Regions from separate parts of the Homo sapiens genome. Here region 2 is linked to region 1. The links are contacts of gene promoters, found by promoter capture Hi-C in blood cells and fetal thymus (Javierre and others, 2016). All regions are on one chromosome and are shown on one strand. The core of a region is centred on a gene start or on the middle of the fragment in contact, and the rest is flanking DNA. Distances in the headings are between cores, read along the strand shown.

Evidence for each region. Contacts are between HindIII fragments. The CHiCAGO score rates a contact against its expected background, and 5 or more counts as called.
Region 2: a contact is called between a fragment that was not itself captured here and the fragment with the promoter of IKBIP in region 1, in 1 of 17 cell types (M0 macrophages). The highest score is 6.5, in M0 macrophages.

Annotation. Positions count from the first base shown.
Region 1 is chr12:98,642,312-98,647,021 of GRCh38, forward strand. It overlaps IKBIP (IKBKB interacting protein), which reads right to left and starts at 2,477. Exons shown (of 3, transcript NM_153687.4): 1 at 2,212-2,477. The coding sequence starts at 2,390. It overlaps APAF1 (apoptotic peptidase activating factor 1), which reads left to right and starts at 2,979. Exons shown (of 27, transcript NM_181861.2): 1 at 2,979-3,524. RefSeq lists enhancers at 1,195-1,822, 1,823-2,449, 2,450-3,077 and silencers at 2,654-2,853, 3,174-3,383. The HindIII fragment of the contact is 4,349 bases long and covers 1-4,161 here.
Region 2 is chr12:118,346,749-118,351,257 of GRCh38, forward strand. All of the region lies in intron 1 of TAOK3 (TAO kinase 3), which reads right to left. Among named protein-coding and RNA genes, the nearest start is that of TAOK3, 24 kb to the right of the region's middle. The HindIII fragment of the contact is 4,674 bases long and covers 161-4,509 here.

The DNA of each region.
Region 1 (4,710 bases), core at 1,227-3,726:
GCTAATTTTTGTGTTTTTGGTAGAGATAGGGTTTCACCATGTTGGACAGGCTGGTCTCAAATTCCTGACCTCAAGTGATTCGCCTGCCTCGGCCTCCCAAAGTGCTAGGATTACAGGCGCAAGCCACTGCACCTGGCCCAAAAAGGTTTTTTTTTCAATTTACTTAAAGGAGGTCAAGCATTTTAAGGCATAAGAGCCGTTTATTTAAAACAGTAAATTCAGTACATTTATTCCTTTCAGATCAAAATTAACATATTCCGTATTAGTAAAATAAATAATGCTATCTGCTTTTTTTTTTTTTTTTTTTGAGAAGGAGTTTTGCTCCATCCTGCAGGCTGGAGTGCAGTGGCACGATTTCGGCTCACTGCAACCTCCGCCTCTTGGGTTCAAGTGATTTTCCTGCCTCAGCCTCCTGAGTAGCTGGGATTACAGGAGCATGCCACCATGCCTGGCTTTTTTGTATTTTTAGTAGACACAGGGTTTTGCTATGTTGGCCAGGCTGGTCTCAAACTCCTGACCTCAGGTGATCCACCCACCTTGGCCTCCCAAAGTGCTGGGAGTACAGGCATGAGCCACTGCCGGCAGGCTGACAATTCTATTGTTTTTGAAGAGGGCGTTTAATCACTTTATTGTGACAAAATTTTGTTTGTTTGTTTTTTGAGATGGAGTCTCGCTCTGTTGCCCAGGCTGGAGTGCAATGGCACGATCCCAGCTCACTGCAACCTCCACCTCCCCATTTCGAGTGATTCTCCTGCCTCAGCCTCCTGAATAGCTGGGATTGCAGGTTTGTGCCACCAAGCCTGGCTAATTTTTGTATTTTTTGTAGAGACAGGGTTTCACCATGTTGGCCAGCCTGGTCTTGAACTCCTGACCTCATGATCTGCCCACCTCGGCCTCCCAAAGTGCTGGGATTACAGGTGTGAGCCACCGCGCCCAGCCGTAACAAATCTTTTAACTCTGAAAAATACACTATTTGGGATGAGTCACCAGTAAAGTATAATTCCATATGTAGTAGCATAAAAAATGTCTAGATGTCCAGGGTCTCTTCTAAAATTCTATCACTCTGGAAGATTAACAACAGTCTTACTAAATAACTTTACACATGAATGAAAAATGGAGAAAAATTCTATTAAGATGCCAATCTTATTAAAATGAAATGGGCTATTCCCTCCTCCCGCCAGAAAAAAAAAGGCTGGGAAAATAAAATTCACAAGTTGGTTTTTTTCTTTTTTCTTTTTTTACGAGTTGGTTTTAAGGTTATTTCTAATATTCATTTTTCCTAATGACACCAATATATCGCCATTTACCTGATTTTAAAACTGCAACTGGTTAGTTTTAAGTGAACACAAGTGCTATGTTTTTGTAGCTTTACCATATTCAATCTGTAACTTACTTAATAAAAGACCTTAAATTCATAATGCATGCACGGTGATCAAAATATGAGCACTCCTCCAAGCTCTGCTACTATAACGTTTGCTCCTTTGGGAGCATAATGATATGGTTTTCTTTTTTTTTTTTTTTTGAGACGGAGTCTCGCTCGGTCGCCCAGGCTGGAGTGCAGTGATGCGATCTTGGCTCATAGCAACCTCCGCCTCCCGGGTTCAAGCGATTCTCCTGCCTCAGCCTCCGGAGGAACTGGGACTACAGGCGCCCGCCACCACGCCCGGCTGATTATTCGTATTTTTGGTAGAGATGGGGTTTCACCATGTTGGCCAGGCTAGTCTCGAACTCCTGACCTCAAGTGATCCACCTGCCTCGGTCTCCAAACATAATGATCTGTTTTAAGGTTGCAAGTATTTCCATTAGGTATTTATGGGGTGAGTAGGGTGGGGCAGATGTGTCCCGGAATGGGGCACAGCGGACAGGAAGTAACGGTTTATAACAACGTGAACGCTTCTGACGTGTAGCGGGAGCTTCAGAAAGCGTGGCCGAATCTGCAGCTCTTAACAAATGGCTCGTTCCCAAACCTTAGCCTCAACTCCTTCTGAGCGATAGGGGCATGCTACCAGCACGGGGGGAAATGAGATACAAGAAACGCCCGAAAGGGAAAAACAAGGCTGGGCTGTTTCCTTCCTTTGGGGTCAAGACAGAGGCACAGAAGGCCCAGGTCTGGGAGGTTGGATCACCTCCGGCTGGATGTTGAGCCGGGTGGGAGCCCAAACAGCAGGGGGCCCACAGGAGGCCGGCCCAGGCAGCCTCGCGTCCACTTACCAGGCCAGGCCCAGGCACGTCCCCAGCGACAGCAGGCTCAGGCACGTTCGGGGGTCTGCCCAGCCCCCGCCTCCGCTGCTCCGGGCCACGGGGGTCTTCCCGCCCTCGCTCCGCTTCCCGGGCTCCGCAGCAGGGGCTCCCTTGGGCCCCGACTTCTTCCGGCTCTTCACCTCAGACATGTCTGGAGACCCTAGGACGACAAGCCCAGGGCAGCTTCTTCACCAGGGGGAGCAGGACGTGGCCGCCTTGGCGTTCGTGGGAACCCTGGGCGGTGACCGCGCCCCCTCACAGACTTGGCACCGCCCAGAGCCCAGCCCCTTCCCTCTCCCCGGCATCCTCGTTGCTTCACTGAGTCTTTCAGCTGCCAGCTCCATAGTTCCCCTAGGAGAGGTGGGCGGCGACCTCAACCCACAGCGCCTTCCACTGCGATATTGCTCCAAATCCGAGGAAATTCAAACTCCCGGGCGCGCGCAGGCCGACGGGACCCGAGGAGGAGGGGCAGGACGAAGGGGTCGCGCGCGCCACGTCGGGCGCGCCGCCGCTGCCCGAGTCCGGCATTGGTGGGAACGCGGCGCGTCCCTGAGGCTTAGCCACGCCCCGTCCGCGGGGTAGGCGGGCACTTCTACGCGCGCGGGCATGAGCCGTGGCAGGAGTGCGCGGCGGCAGCGGTGGCCGCCCCTTGGGGCTTGGGGTGTGTTTATTTGCATAAGCGGGCGCGCGCCGTCCGGGCTGGGTGGATCCGGCGGGATTTGACTGCTCCGCTGTCCAGAGGCGGAGAAGAAGAGGTAGCGAGTGGACGTGACTGCTCTATCCCGGGCAAAAGGGATAGAACCAGAGGTGGGGAGTCTGGGCAGTCGGCGACCCGCGAAGACTTGAGGTGCCGCAGCGGCATCCGGAGTAGCGCCGGGCTCCCTCCGGGGTGCAGCCGCCGTCGGGGGAAGGGCGCCACAGGCCGGGAAGACCTCCTCCCTTTGTGTCCAGTAGTGGGGTCCACCGGAGGGCGGCCCGTGGGCCGGGCCTCACCGCGGCGCTCCGGGACTGTGGGGTCAGGCTGCGTTGGGTGGACGCCCACCTCGCCAACCTTCGGAGGTCCCTGGGGGTCTTCGTGCGCCCCGGGGCTGCAGAGATCCAGGGGAGGCGCCTGTGAGGCCCGGACCTGCCCCGGGGCGAAGGGTATGTGGCGAGACAGAGCCCTGCACCCCTAATTCCCGGTGGAAAACTCCTGTTGCCGTTTCCCTCCACCGGCCTGGAGTCTCCCAGTCTTGTCCCGGCAGTGCCGCCCTCCCCACTAAGACCTAGGCGCAAAGGCTTGGGTAAGTTGACCTCCTCGCTTTTCTCCCCGAGCCAGGTTCTTTGGAGGCTTGGTAGCTGATTTCAGGGACTGAGAATTTGAGGACATGGAATATTTGATAACCATCCTGCTCCTGTACCAGGAAGAGAAATTCTGTAATGAGGAAGTAGTAAACTTGGGGTTTTCGTGGATAAACGTGCGCTGTTTTCTGTTTTACGTCCATGAAGAGTTTTGGCTTTCCATTTTGTTGTGGGTTACAAAAGGTTTTGAGACTTAGTTCAGATAAGTTGTGCAGTTTTAAAACGTATTTAAGATTTGCATATTTTAGTTTAACAGGACTAGGTGAAATTGGAAATTAGTTTCAGAAAACCAGAGTGTCTTATTTGCTTAGCTATTGGACATCACCTAAAAAATTCATTCATTCTTGTTTTTTCACATCGAATTTCATTACTATAAATTAAGGAACATTTTATGTTTAAGAGGACAAAAACGTTATTAACATTTTAAAAAATGAGAGTTTTGATTCGAATCAATAACTTTTTATCAGTTTTGTGCCCCTGCTGGGCATTTTGTAAGCCTTGACAAGCATAGGCAAATGCCCTACGTCCGTCCCTGTTTTTCCAAGTGCTACATTTGGTGACTTCAAAAACAGTCATTGAAGCTTGATAATTATTGCCCCCTTCTGTGAGCTCCAAGTTACTTGTGCTCTGTTTTTGCACTTCGGGCATTCACATTCCCACTCTCTCTCTCTTTTTCTTCTTTGAGTAGACTGTGAATTATTTCAGGCAAATGACTCAATCTTTTCTGTAGTCTTGGTGTCTGACATATAGGGAGGGGCACAAATGTGTATTGAATGAATGAATTGATAAACCCGTTTAGACTCTTTCACTCTATACATTGTGTAAAGTTCTGTTAATGTTTTGAAAACTTGCAGATATTGTGAACTGGGTTTTATGCCCATGGAAAAATTTGCATTATATTTGAAATAAAGTTGCTAGAAACGTCAAGTATTTTACTATAAAGGCTGTTATTCTTTCCTCATGTCCTCCTGGTCTGAGAAATCACATCAGAAAGTGTTTCCTGTTGCTTTGTGGGAAATGTGTTTAGCAAGGAGGACCTAGAGCTGACATCCTCCTTGAACGAGAACTAATACTCAATAGTAACAATGCTCTATTCACTCTTATGTTTGATAAGGAAAACAAGAAGTC
Region 2 (4,509 bases), core at 1,248-3,747, about 20 Mb after region 1:
AAACATTTATACAGAATGGAAAGTTTAATCTTTCTACATGTGCCTGAGATAATGCAAGGTATTTTCTAAATCTAACTTGTCTATCTGTAGTTACTATTCTATCTGTAGGTACTACTAATAAGCAATAATAGTATAAATTTTACAGTGAAGCCATTATGTAAGCTTCCTCAATTTAAAAATTTCTCTGTATATGCATTCGTCTTCCTCCTTCAGTTTTCCTTTATCAGGCCAAGCACTTCTGTCCAACAATAGGCCTTTTTTCTTTTTTTAGACCAGGTCTCGCTCTGTCACCCAGGCTAGAGTGCGGTGGCACGATCATGATCCTGGCTCACTGAAGCCTTGACTGCCCGTGCTCAAGTGATCCTCCACCTCAGCCTCCTGAGTAGCTGGGACCGCAGACACGTGTCACCACACCCAGCTAATTTTTTTAAAAAAATTATCATTTGTAGAGATGAGATCTCACTTTATTGCCCAGGCTAGGCTTGAACTCCTGGGCTCTGGCAATCCTTCTACTTAGGCCTCCCCAAGTGCTGGGATTACAGGTGTGAGCCACAAGGCCCAGTCCAAATGACCTCTTAATTCTTTATCCTACTACCTTCTCACTTCATTAATGCACCCCTCTCATTTTTCTTCAATCCGCAGTTGCTTCCTCTCTCCCAACTCCTCCTTTTGGCCTACAGCATGCTCAAGGTATCATTTATTGAGGGGAGGAGGGGGAGCTTTTCCTGACAGGAAGATGCTCTGGCAACTCACTAGCTCCAGCCTCCTCATTTCCAAGTCCAACAGGAGTCCTCTCAGGTCATATCCTTCCATAACCTCTATGCCGCATCTCCTTACAAGGTTGTTTCTTGGTTTGTGTGGCACTGTCCTCTAGGAGTTTCTTTCCAACCCACCTCTTCTGGCTTATCCTACTTCTCTCAACCTCTTAACACAAAATTCTGTGCTGAGCTTCCCCTCTCTACCCTGCACTTTCTCTCATTTATCTGATTCACTCCTGTTCTTTTAGCTCTCTATGCCAAGCCGTTAATGCCCTCAATAAATCTCTCACAAGCTGCTTTTCTCCTTTTCCATTGAGGCTGTCCTAGTTCCAGAACCTCACTACTAGTCCAAGTTCTCATTCTCAATTTCTTTCTTCCTTTAAGTCATTCTACAAACTATTGATAGAGTAATCTTTCAAAGGCTCTGATTGCATCAGTCTTTTCTATTCAAATATCTTAAATGGTTCCTCACTATCTACTGTTCAAAGTTCAAACCTCCTGTTATGTGGCTCTAAGGCTTTTGATTTGCCACTATCCCTGAATATCCTACATTTTGTTCACTATGTCTGTAGGCCAAAAAATACATTGATTATGTCCACCACGCCTGCTGAAAAGGTATCCACAATTCAAGACTCAGTTCAAACTCCATCTCCATGTTACCCCATCTCCCTAGTACGGAAGTAATCTCTTCCTTCTTCATGTATAGAAAGTACCTGACAGCTTCTTGCTGACCTTGATGTCATTCTATTTTGCCTTTAAAGGACATGGACCTTTCTTAATTCCATTAATTGAATATGACTTGCATCAGGATTCTTATTCGCTTTCCATAGTGCCTTCAATGGAGGAGGCAGTGTTAAACACAGACTATTCATCTGGAATTAAAGACTACTTGTCCAGCCTCTGAGCTAAAGTCTAAGTCTGCTTCTGCCTTATTTCTTTCTTTCTTTCTTTTTTTTTTTTTTGAGACGGAGTCTCGCTCTGTCACCCAGGCTGGAGTGCAGTGGCACAATCTTGGCTCACTGCAAGCTCTGCCTCCCGGGCTCACGCCATTCTCCTGCCTCAACTACCCGAGTAGCTCGGACTACAGGTGCCCGCCACCACGCCTGGCTAATTTTTTGTATTTTTAGTAGAGACAGGGTTTCACCATGTTAGCCAGAATGGTCTCGATCTCCTGACCTCTTGATCCACCCGTCTCAGCCTCCCAAAGTGATGGGATTACAGGCGTGAGCCACTGCGCCCAGCCTCTGCCTTATTTCTGAAGAAAAGATATGGGATAAGAATTAGCTAAATACACAATATTATGTGTGTTTTTGTGAGGGGGGAGAAAAAAAATAATTTCTTTTTTTTTTTTTTTTTTTTGAGAACGGGTCTCACTCTTGTTGCCCGGGTCTCACTCTTGTTGCCCGGGTCTCACTCTTGTTGCCCAGGCTGGAGTGCAGTGGCGCGTTCTTGGCCCACTGCAACCTCTGCCTCCCAGGCGGTTCAAGCAATTCTCTTGCCTCAGGCTCTTGAGTAGCTGGGATTACAGGTGCTCACCACCACACCCAGCTAATTTTTGTATTTTTAGTAGAGTTGGGGTTTCACCATGTTGCCCAGGCTGGTCTCAAACTCCTGACCTCAGGTGACCGCCCACCTTGGCCTCCCAAAGTGCTGGGATTACAGGCATGAGCCACCGCGCTGGCTGATTCAAATCATTTCAAAGCATTTTCATTTTAATTATTTTACAAAAAGTAATTATGAGCAATTCCACTCTAGGTATATACCCAAGAGAATGGAAAAATATGTTCATTTAAAAACTTGTATATTTACTGTCACAGAAACATTATTAATATCCAAAAAGTAGAAGCAGCCAAAATATCCATCAACTCTTGAATAATCAGAATGTGGCACACAGATATAATGAAATATTATTTGGCCATAAAAAGGAATCATCACTGATGTACGCTACAATGTGGATGAATCTTGAAACATTATGCTAAGTGAAGATGTCAGACACAAAAAGACACATATTGTCTTGTTCCAGTTATACAAAATGTCCAGAGTAGGCAAATCCATAGAGACAGAAAGTAAATTAGTGCTTACCAGGGGTTGGGGATAATTGAGAGTGGCTGCTAACAGGTACAAAATTCTTTTTGGTGTAATGAAAATGTTCTAGAGTTAGATAGTGGTGAGGTTAGATATTGTAACAACATCACAAATATACTAAAAACCTGAATTTCATAATTTAAAAAGGTAAGTTTTATATCATAAAATTTTATCTAAATTAAAAAAAACACAAAAAACAGTTATTAGTTTCATGCCCCAAATGACAGCTTCAATTTGTGGTATAAAGGAAAAGAGCTCTGACCTTTCAATCAGCAAATCTAGGTTTCAGCCAAGTCACTTAACTCTCTTACTTAACTGTGGCGTCTTTAGGATGCAGCTGAACTTCTCTAAGCCTTCATAACCTCATCTACAAAGTGAGGATATAATGCCTTACAAAGTCACTGTGAGACTCACAATATAACATAAAATTATTATTTCAAATGAATAAAATCTGATAGTTATTTTGCATGCCTAAAATGATTTTTTAAAAATCCTAAACTGTATTGAATAGCCCATAACTTCACTGAATAGTCCACAACTTTTTATTGTTGCCATGTTATCTAACCAGCTTTTGTATTGTCATATATGAATGACATCTTGGGGCCACGTAGCACTTATCCTGTAGGCACTAATAGAACAGTACAGAGTTATTTAATTCCAATCTTCACAATGAGGGGTACATGGCCCAACAGTTATAAACACAGGCATAGAACTGAGTTTAAGTCCAGGTTCTGCCACAGATCTTGAACAAACCACCTAACCTCTCTGAACATCAGTATACACCCCTGTAAAGTCTATGTAAGAATATGTATGTGAATCTACACAAATATCCATTATAGAGGTTCGTTGAGATACTCATTATATAAAGCATGTATTGTAATACCTAGCACCTAACAAGCACTCATTCAGCAATTGTTATTGTTGTTGTCCATCCTATGGAGTAACAAGTTTAAATGACGGGTCTTCAGCTACAAGACAAATTTGAGGCCAGGCATGGTGACTCACGCCTGTAATCCCAGCACTTTGGGAGGCTGAGGCAGGTGGATCACCTTAGGTCAGGAGTTCGAGACCAGCTTGGCCAACATGGTGAAACTCTGTCTCTACTAAAAATACAAAAAATTAGCTGGGTATGGTGGTGGGCACCTGTAATCCCAGCTACTCGGGAGGCTGAGGCAGGAGAATCGCTTGAACCTGGGAGGTGGAGGTTGCAGTGAGCTGAGGTCGTGCCATTGTACTCCAGCCTGGGCAACAAGACCAAAACTCCGTCTCAAAAAAAAAAAAAAGAAAAGAAAAAGAAAAAAAAAAGGCCAGGTGTGGTGGTTCATGCCTGTAATCCCAGCACTTTGGGAGGCTGAGGCAGGCGGATCACTTGAGGTCAGGACTTTGAGACCACCCTGGCCAACGTGGTGAAACCCCATCTCTACAAAAAATACAAAAATTGGCCAGGCGTGGTGGTGCATGCCTGTAATCCCAGCTACTTGGGAGGCTGAGGCACGAGAATCACTTGAACCCGGGAAGTGGAGGCTGCAGTGAACTGAGATCACAGCACTGCACTCCAGCCTAGGTGACAGAATAAAACTCTGTCTCAAGAAAATAAATTAAAAAAAAATCTGAGGCATAACTAGGAATAGAGAAGTAGTTTGTATACTTATTTAGGTAACTAGAA